2 separate regions of the Homo sapiens genome follow, and region 2 is linked to region 1. The links are contacts of gene promoters, found by promoter capture Hi-C in blood cells and fetal thymus (Javierre and others, 2016). All regions are on one chromosome and are shown on one strand. The core of a region is centred on a gene start or on the middle of the fragment in contact, and the rest is flanking DNA. Distances in the headings are between cores, read along the strand shown.

The links. The method cuts DNA at HindIII sites, captures the fragments that hold promoters and counts their contacts. A CHiCAGO score of 5 or more calls a contact.
Region 2: a fragment that was not itself captured here is called in contact with the fragment with the promoter of ANKRD44-AS1 in region 1 in 11 of 17 cell types (total B cells, naive CD8 T cells, naive B cells and 8 more); the score reaches 13.9 in total B cells.

Annotation. Positions count from the first base shown.
Region 1 is chr2:197,195,185-197,200,421 of GRCh38, forward strand. ANKRD44-AS1 (ANKRD44 antisense RNA 1) reads left to right here and starts at 2,807. Exons shown (of 2, transcript NR_135584.1): 1 at 2,807-2,905; 2 at 3,734-4,089. The region is part of intron 1 of ANKRD44 (ankyrin repeat domain 44); the gene reads right to left. RefSeq lists an enhancer at 3,853-3,922. The HindIII fragment of the contact is 4,177 bases long and covers 1-4,004 here.
Region 2 is chr2:197,276,050-197,281,286 of GRCh38, forward strand. All of the region lies in intron 1 of ANKRD44 (ankyrin repeat domain 44), which reads right to left. All of the region lies in intron 5 of ANKRD44-IT1 (ANKRD44 intronic transcript 1), which reads right to left. Among named protein-coding and RNA genes, the nearest start is that of ANKRD44-IT1, 24 kb to the right of the region's middle. The HindIII fragment of the contact is 476 bases long and covers 1,711-2,186 here.

The DNA of each region.
Region 1 (5,237 bases), core at 1,557-4,056:
TGCCCAGGCTGCTCTTGAACCCCTGGCCTCAAGCAATTCTTCTGCCTCAGCCTCCCAAAGAGCTGGGATTACAGTCATGAGCACTGTACCCAGCCTTTACCTAATCTTATGGACAAACAGGAATGGGGGTCATGAGCAGGAGAAAGGAATAGAGTTTTCCCAAGAATTTAATCTGGCCAAAGTGTACACTGAGTACTGGAGAAGGAGAGATTGGAGTTAGAGGCCCAGTTAGAAGGCTGTTGCTACAATCCAAGCCATCACAGGAAAGAACTTTCCCATCTTTTTTTTAATCACAGTCTCCCCAGGTGCTACTTACAGGGATACGGTGAAAACAACAGATATAGTTTTTGGTTCTTTAATGTCTGCTCTATTCCTGGATGCAATTTTGGCCCAGCATCTTGGCCACTTTCCTTCACTCTTTATATATAGCCCAAATCCCTTGCCTCCGAAACACTAATGTTTCCAGGTGAAACTGAGGTTACTTCCTTTAGTTCTGGAACATTTCCATTTTTTCCCCCACAGAACCTCTGCGGATGTAAGCTCTGTTTTGTCAGACTTGTCACTTGATCGCTGAATTTAAATCATAACATTTCAAAAATAGGCCACATCCATAAAGAGAAAGGCAAATCAAAACAAGGCAGACAGCCTTTGCCAAGTGCCATATTTCTATCAGGATCTGCTGCCAACTACCCACAGATTTTTTCACTCTGTCTAGTTTCAAATGGCTTGAGATCAAACCTAAACTTTAGCTAAGATAATTAAATTGTGTTGGGGAGTTAACTTTTAAAGAAAGCTAATTTGGGCAAAAAGGACAATGGATCCAGGAGGTTAGTTCATACAGAACATTTAAATCCATGTAATTTTAGTGAAACAAAAAGAACAACTATATATACTTCTGCAACAGTTTCCTGTTTTGAAAAATTGGTATAGAGGTTTTATTTCTCATCTTGGCTTGGGTTACATTCTTTGTATAACTGTATCTTACTGCATATTGAATTCATGTAGTTGCAAACATGAGAGGTGGATTTAATAATGTTAATCAATATAAACCACTTTAGTGATCTTTGTGGGGAAAAAAGAAAAATGGCCAGAAGATGATTTTCAGGGTTGTAGGTATATTCAGTATAATTTATTTGTCTGTTCAAATAGAGACAGCAGTTCAGTTTTAGGGTGCACTGGAAAACATGACTTTTTATTACTACCTGGTATGTGCATCACTTATAAAAAAGACAACAATAAAAAAGTATTCCTTATAAAAAATAGCAGAAAATGATCCATAACTACAGAAGTATCTTCTTGTGGTCATGAGTAATTTTAATTTTTGAGAATCTCACAAATTGGAAGCTAAATAAAGCAATTCAAGTGTCCTTTAAAAACAACAACAAAATCAGCATGTAGAAATGAAAGGTACTCTCAGAAAGGTGGCAATCTCCTGCTACATTTGAGGAGGCTGGAACTACTGTATACAAGATATATGGATTAACTCAGTCACATTAAATCATTCATGATTTAGGCAACTCCAGATTGGGTTTGTCTAAAATCTGTTAGCACCTGGGTTCTTTCCAAACACCAGCAAGCAATTTTTACACAATCAGGTCTTTCCAAAGCCCATGACAATTTTCCTTTAAACCCTCTCCTTCCCTTCTACTGTTCTTTTCTTTGAATTCCACGTGCATTCTTGGAAAGACAGCAAGCAGTTAAACTCTCACCACCTCTCCACAGGTGAGGGACTAGGGACATGTGTAAAACGGAGTCACCTTCCTGTTCTGGCCATTGTCAATTTTTTTTTTCCTAAGGCATCTTGTTATAGCAACCATTCTAAAATTGTTATAGCAACCATTCTAAAATTTAAGGCAGTGGGTTGATCAGGACCTGAATTAGTTTCTGCCTGAGATGACTGGAAGGTCCCCTACTCCCTCCCCAGCCAGAAAAAGTCACATGGAATGAAAATCTATTAGAGAATCCCCTCAGTGTAGTCTTTCAGGAAGCATCTTCTCATTTCCCCATCCAAAATCATGGTAAGGACATCCAGTGACAGATGTCAAAGGGAAAGGATAAGGCAGCAGGAAGAGAGAGGAGCCTAAGAGACTGGAAAACATTCGATAATATAAAATGGGAAAATGGGAAATTCTGCAAAAAAAAAGAAGTCATATCATATTTCCTTTCACAGACACCAACCCAGTGCGTAGCTCCTTTATTTCTTTACACACTACCCCCTCCAACAGGGGATAAAAGATATGTTTTCTAAAACTTAATTTGGTACATTTCAGATAACCACATTCAATTCAACAAAGATGTATTAAGCATAAGACATTTACTGAGCATAAGAAATTCAGACACTGGAGGCCGGGCGCAGTAGCTCATGCTTGTAATCCCAACACTTTGGGAGACCAAGGCAGGCGGATCACTTGAATCCAGGAGTTCCAGACCAGCCTAGACACATGGTGAAACCACATCTCCACTAAAAATGCAAAAATTAGCTGGGCACGGTGGCGCACACCTGTAGTCCCAGCGACTCGGGAGGCTGAGGTGGGAGAACCAACTGAGCCCAGGAAATTGAGGCTGCAGTGAGCCATGCTCACACCATTGCACTCCAGCCTGGGTGACAGAGTGAAATCCTGTCTCAAAAAAAAAAAAAAAAAAAAAGAAAGAAAGAAACACAGAAAAAGAAAAAGAAAGAAAGAAATTCAGACACTGGAATGTCAGAGTCAGTCTCTCCCTTGATGAGGTTACCAAGGTGTAACAGGAAGTATACAAATACGCACAGCTAGAATGTAAGGCACAGGCCGCAGGAGAAGTGCATGGAGAAGGGAGAGAAATTGTACCTGGCCTCCTGAAAGACGCAGCCTCTGAAATGAATATTGAAGACTGGGGAGGATTTAAACAGGTAGAGACGGATGGAATGGTAAGGGACTTTCCCTTCTTCATATTCAGAAGGCTGTGAGCAGAAGCTAGGGAGCCTGAACATACACAGGGAACAGTTTCATTTGGCTGGAGGAGGGGAGAAGTGAGGTAAGCTGAGTAGTAGACAGGGATCCTATCATGGAAGGTCTTGAATACCAAGCTAAGAAATTTGAGCTCTCTTCTGTGGAACTGGGGGAGCAGTGGGTGGTTTTTGAGCAGGGGAGTGACCTAAGATTTGTGCTTTAGAACAATCACTCTAAAAATGGATTGTATGATGACCTGGAGGAAAAGGCTGGAGTGTCATAACAAGTTAGGAAACTGCAATAATAGTCTGCACAAAGGGCTCTGGGGATGGAGTACCGCTCAGTTGTCAGAGGAAGCATTCTTCTGGTGGTAATATGTGAATCTAAAAGGTAAATTTGACCGGGCATGGTGGCTCACGTCTGTAATCCCAGCACTTTGGGAGGCCGAGGCAGGTGGATCACCTGAGGCCAGGAGTTTGAGACCAGCCTGGCCAACATGGTGAAACCCCGTCTCTACTAAAAATACAAAAAATTAGCCAGGCATGGTGGCGTGCCCCTGTAATCCCAGCTACTCGGGAGGCTGAAGCAGGTGAATCGCTTGAGCCCGGGAGGTGGAGGTTGCAGTGAGCTGAAATCGTGCTACTGCACTCCAGCCTGGGCGACAGCAAGACTCCATCTCGAAAAATAAAAAATAAAATAAAATAAAATAAAATGTAAATCTAGCTCCACCTTTAATGTAGCAAGGGCTAGCCTCCTCAGGAGTGGCTGCCTACATTCAAAACGATTCTCACCAACTTCTTCCACAGGACACAGGGCTCGGGAGCAGCGCCAGCCCGACATCGGCGGAGGAGCACCGGAAGTTCTGCAGCACTGGCTTTCTTTGCTCTTCCACCTATGCAAGCTCCTTCTCTCTTGTGGCTTGCCGAGCCTGGTTAGCTCTGAGACCGGAAGTTCTGAAGTCAGCTGGCATCCTACATCTGTGCAACCTACTTCTCTCCCCATCCCACCACAGAAACCAGAGCCTCGAGGCTTTTGGCTTGGGTGCTGCCTTCACAGTTTAGGTTTTGGTAAGAAGAAAGCTTATCTTCATGTCATGAGAAAGAAAAAAAAATGTATCTTTACGTAACGAGCTGAAAGAACAAAACAAGTATACCTAAGCCAAGTACATGCTATCTTTATTTCTTTATTTCCACACTGAAATTTAGTCAGGGATAAAACTTACTTTTTTAATCACACGAAGTTTGAAAAATAGGAAGTACTATGGGAAACACCTAATGCATCAAAACCCCTGTGCATTTTATCTTTGTCTTATGTTTGCTGGATTTTAATCTTAGTAGGTTTCCTGTTGCAACAATACAAAAACAGATAAAGAAAAAACTTAATAACCTTTCCTACCACAAATGTGAACAGCCCGTGTTCTTGTTGGTAGGTACAGATACAGATATATGAGATTATCGTTATTTATTATCAGAAAATGGGATTTTACTATTTCCCACACACACACTTTTTTTGAGATGGGGGTCTTGCTATATTGTCCAGGGTGGTCTCAAATTCTTGGGTTCAAGCGATCCTCCCACCCAAGTATCTGTAATCCAAGTAGTCTGGATTACAGATGCATACCACCATGCCTGGCTTATTTCCCTCTCTTACAATTTGCAAAAATAATGATGTACTGAGGACATCCCCCAGGTCGATAGCTACAGGATTAAATCATTTCTCTTAATAACTATATATAATACTATTCCATTGTATGGATATGCCATAACATATTCAATTATTCCCCTTCGAATGGGCATTTGGGTTGTTTCTAGTTTGTACCACAACAAACAAGCCTCTATCAGTGCTTATCCACATTGCACAGAGAAGTGCTACCAGAGCCAAAAGCATTTTCTGAGTACCTACAATATGCTATTTTTATGAAATATACAAAAGAAATGTGTGACATAGTCCTTTCCTAAAAGACTGCCAAATATAGTTGGGGAAATAAGCCTAACCCACACAAAACACTTAAACTGTGTAAGACAGTACTGAACCATGTTCTACAGACCTCATGCAAATGGATGCCAAGTTGTCCTTCTGCACAATGACAGATTGGAGAGGTAATCTGGAGGTGCCTTTAGCCATAATATTCTAGGAGCCTTCTTGATTCAGAAAAGGGGAAGCATGAAAGGCTAAGAAGCCAGAGTGGTGTCTCTGGAGGAGGCAGGACTTGAACAAGGCCTGAACATGGTTTAGATGGAGGAAGGAAAAAAATGTATTTTGGAATGACAAATGAGGCAGGGCACAGCACTGACTTTAGACATGTATATG
Region 2 (5,237 bases), core at 699-3,198, 80 kb after region 1:
CAAATCACCTGAGGTCAGGAGTTCGAGACCAGCCTGGCCAACATGGTGAAACCCTGTCTCTAGTAAAAATAAAAAATTAGCCAGGCATGGTGGCACGCACCTGTAATCCCAGCTACTTGGGAGGCTGAAGCAGGAGAATCACTTGAACCTGGGAGGTAGAAGTTGCAGGGGGCTGAAATCATGCCACCGCACTCCAGCATGAGCAAAAAGAGCGAAACTTGGTCTCAAAAAAAAAAAAAAAAAAAGGAAAATTAAAAAAAGAACTTTGCTAAGAGTTTTTTACACCATCTCTAAAAATGATGACTCTTACAGAAATGACATTCATGATTAATGAGACATCTCTATAACACACCTGTATTGCTCTATATTTATAGTTGTCATATTCTTAGTGATAAACAAGAAAAGACTTTTTTGCCCTTATTTCTAGGGTTATATATAAGAGTACTAATATATAACTAAAACTATTCAGCTGAATATTTCTTAAATACAAACTGATTTATGAGCAAAAATGTAACTATTTCATTAGGTCTTCAATATAGCTGTCCCCATATTGAAATACATGCTACTTTATTATAAATTATTTTCATGTTGTTTCTCCTTTATATTATAATTAGAGTATTACATTGATTTATTTTTAAATATTGTGTGTGAGTTCTATTATCTGTGAGTTTCCATTTCAGGAAGAGGATGTTACAAAATATATAAAAGAGGATGCTGGGTTTGATAAGGTTGGAAACCACTGCCTTATAGAACTGATTCTAAAACTGGGGTCTGAGGCCCACCCACAGCACAAATACCTGTGGCATTCATAAAAAATCCAGGTGCCTAGGCTCCAGCCTGTCTCATAAGGATGCTCTCTGGGGCTAGAACCCAGGAATTTTTTTTTTTTTTTTTTTGAGATGGAGTCTCGCTCTGTTGCCCAGGCTGGAGTACAGCGGCGCAATCTCGGCTCACTGCAAGCTCTGCCTCCCACGTTCACGCCATTCTCCTGCCTCAGCCTCCCAAGTAGCTGGGACTACAGGTGCCTGCCACCAAGGCCAGCTAATTTTTTGTATTTTTAGTAGAGACGGGGTTTTACTGCATTAGCCAGGATGGTCTCAATCTCCTGACCTTGTGATTGGCCCACCTCGGCCTCCCAAAGGAATCTATTTTTCAAAGCTCCTCAAGTGATATTGATCCTCTTCTCGGTTTGGTACCCACAAGTATAGAGGACACGGAGTGCACCAAGCCCTTCCCTAGCCTAGAGGTGCTCAGAGTCTCAAAGGGAAGGTAAAATTTTAACCATCATGTCAGGCACATAACTGTTAAGTGCTAGAAAGAAATACCAGTGAAGTGCTATGGGAATTCAAGAAAGGAACAGCTGGGCTGGAGGAGGTGTCTTGCAAAGGGTGCATTCCAGTGAGGATCTGGAAGACAGGGAGTAAGAGCCTCATCTCTGGAGACCGTGACTGCAGAGGCCTTTACATACATTATCTCCATCCAAATTCAAAGCTACTGTCTGGGATAAATACCACTCCTATCCAGTCTTTCAGAATAATGAGGCCTAAAGAAGCAGAATAATTTCACTCAAGGTTTTAAACTTAGGCCCTGCAGTCCCAGATGATAGAGCTTAACCACGCAGCTAATACTCAAGCCTTGACCAGAGGGAAACAGGTAGGGGTGGTATGGAAGAGGTCCCAAGGAGTTTCAAGACATAGAATTTCTATCCAAAGCTTCACTTCCATCTTGCTATTAGCGCTGTCACCAGCATTCAGGAGGACAAGAGGAAATTATCATAATTAGAAGGGACTCTGAGCATGTATCATTCACATATGGCTGGAAAGACTCAAGGATGAGAATAGGCAGTTAGGAGTCACTGACGCTAATGAGCCACAAATCATAGAAAAGTAACTTAATTGAGACAACAGCAAAATGAGAGGAGGCTCAGAATTAGGAGCTCTCACACTGCTTCGACAGTTCTAGTAACAGCGTAAAGCAGTTTCTGCTTAATCAATTCCCACCTAATCAGAGAGCCATCTTAACGCAGCATCTCCCAAGGCAGCAAATTAGCTAATAGTGAGTGACTGCAGCAATCAGGACAGTATCAGTGGGGACGGGAGGGATGGAAATATGCTAGGAAGAAAGGCAATTGGCTGGTGCTAAGGGGTTAAGGGGTGTTTAACTGGCTGTTAAATTGCAAAGTGCTAAGCTTCTGTGTTCTAATGCAGAAAGAGTTAACAATGAATAGAAATAAAGATGAAATCCATCTTTTTTTCTGTTTTTTTTATTCTGCATCCTAAATGTGCATCCAGGTAGTTACAAAACTTACTTTTTGTTTGTTTTGTTTTGACAGAGTCTTGCTCTGTCGCCCAGGCTGGAGTGCAGTGGTGTGATCTCGGCTCACTGCAACCTCCACCTCCCGGGTTCAAGCAATTCTCCTGCCTCAGCCTCCCGAGTAGCTGGGACTACAGGCACGCACCACCACGCCCGGTTAATTTTTGTATTTTTAGTAGAGACGGGGTTTCACCATGCTGGTCTCAAACTGCTGGCCTCAACCTCAGCCTCCCAAAGTTCTGGGATTTCAGGCATGGGCCACTGCGCCCATCCACAAAACTCACTTTTATCCCTACAAAGGTAAAGATGGAGGCTCTTTACACCCATGTTACAGGCCACAAGGTCTTATTGGACAGTAAGACCAAAAGACCTCCCTACCCACTTTCTCTTCCCCACCACCCCTTTCCTTTCTCTCATTGCGACACGTAGGTCGCCAGCAAGCAAGTGCCTCAAATCTCTGAGGCAGAGACTTTTCGCTTTGGAAACATTTGGAGCAGAAACAGGCGGTGTGGTCTGGAGCAAACATGCAAGAGAAGAAAATACCAAGAAGTCAGAGAAGAATCCCTCCACGTGGAATTCTCATTTGCATTTTGTGCAGTCAGCAGTTCTCCAGTTTTTCCACATCCTTTCAAAGGTTGGGCTCTCATGTGTTGTGAGAAGGTCAGACTAAGCGGGTTTTTCTTATGGTTTCAGGCTGGATAATATTTCATAACCACATGATTGCAGGGCTAAGCTTAGCAGTGCTGTATTTAAGAGTGGATCGCATATCCATCATTCAGTCCACATTTCAAAGACTGATAAAATATTGCCCCTGAAGATTTAAGAGATGCTGGTGATAGAACATTTCCCTCTCCTAACTAATAAAACTGTGAGGGTCAGTTCCTAATACAATACCAGGGAGCCTACCTGTATACAATAAAACGTCATTTGTCCTTGGAAGATGGCCTGAGAAACAGCATCACGCAGTCCAGGCAGTAAACAAGCCATTGAGTCTCTATATACATCATGGTTAGATTATTCATCCTAAAACACCACTTGGCACACATCACAACCTCTGATCAAAAGTCGTCATGGCTCCCCACGGTCACAAGATAAACCCCAAACTCCTTAGCGGGTTTTCACAAACTGGAACTCCACAAACTGGCACTGTCCATTCTCTCCCATCCAATCTCCCACTGTTGCCCATACACACCCTCTGCTCCAGCCAAGCTGCTCGCTTCACTGTTCCTGGAAGCCCTTTGCAAGGCTTCCTTTTTCTCTCTTCCCTTGCTGACCTCTGCTCCCAAATGCACCCTTCCTCCTTCTTCCTAGTTTGTCCTACTACGAGACATTTAAAAACCAACTCAAATCCCATGTCCTCCATAAAGCCACCTTTCAGAAAGCTTCCTGCCTGGATGTGCTCACTCTCCTGCACTCCAATGAGAGCCATCAGCTGGCACCCTAAACACAGACCGCCCTGCATTGGGATTGATTTATTTCCATGCTTCCCACCCCACCCAGTTGGACCATAAAGTTCCTGGGTACAGTGTCTTGTCCTGGCTTCCCAGAATCTCACCTCTTCGCCTCACAGCAGATGCTCTGCAAAGCTTTGTTGTCATCATTTTTGAGCCACCACTACTATAAGAATTTCGTCCTCCCTAGTATTAATGGTTTATGAGACACTTCTGCCTTTAAACCACCTTATCTCTCTCTTTCTGTCCAATCTCTCTTTGAGCTCGGCGTGTGACAGGACTGCCAGTTCATTCTGTCCCTACTGCTGTCACATACACCTAAGAGTGTTTAACAGAAAAATCCTAAGAGGTGATTGCAAGGTCGGAAAATCACCTTAAGCCCCCCGGGGCCATGTGCAGTCTACAGACAGGAAATAGGCAACAGGAGAATGAAATTAGCATAAAGAAAAAAGGGGCTATGGCTCCTCTCCACCCAAGTCAGCAACACCTACCAGAAACAACAAAGAAAGCATCTGGATAAAGCATTGGCAAGCATTGCTGAGGTCGGGAAACTGCTCGTAACAAAAGCACAAAGGGTTTGCAAAAGGCAGCTCCCCTTCCCTTCCCAAATTACCAAAAGCTCAACAAGAAAACGAGCAGAGTTTTTGCTCTAAAAACATCTGTTTTCAGTTACCTGTGCCTGAACCACAAACTTAACAGAGAAACACAGAGATCCCAAGCTGACTCCGTGGTCTAAGATCTGTCAGGACAAATTATGTGGAGATGGAGGAGCCAAGTGTGGGATGCTTGAGCAACCGCTGTACAATAGCCACGGTCTTGATAAGCCTCGCGGATGAGATTTTGGCGGACTAGGGATTGTACTACTGAACTTGATTGCTGAAAATGTAAAAGCCCATCAAAGAGTATTATTACCCCTTGATAAACCAGCTACCCACAGTGGTCAATTACTAATGAACAGACCTCTTTCACCAATTAAAGTCACATGTTACCACTCAATTCCCAACATATTTAGTCTTTTTCTCCCAGTAGTCCATCTCACTACTGTCTAGCTAAACCTCTCCAACTAAGATGTTGTTTGTCTTTACTTAAAAAACAGTCTTTCTGGAGTCTGGTCAGTGGGGCCCAAAAAAGAAAATAAAATAAAAATAATTTTTAAAATAAACAGTCTTTCACTAGAATGTTCTTTATATTAAAATCTTAAGCTCTGCTTTTTTTTTTTGAGATATGTCTTGCTCTGTTAACCTGCCAGAGTCCTGACTGACCTTCATTTGTTCATTCTCCTTGTGCAGTTCTTCAATGTTCTTTGCAAATGGATTTCACTAAAGTGAGTTCTGTCTATTAATGTCAGTAGGTATAAATGCCTGTCCATCTTTGGAGGGACTTTGGGAGATGATCTTATACCAAATGAACATGTTACATGCCTGTTGATAGGAGGCCTGATGCTTTATTTTCTCTAGAAAAAATAGATATTTC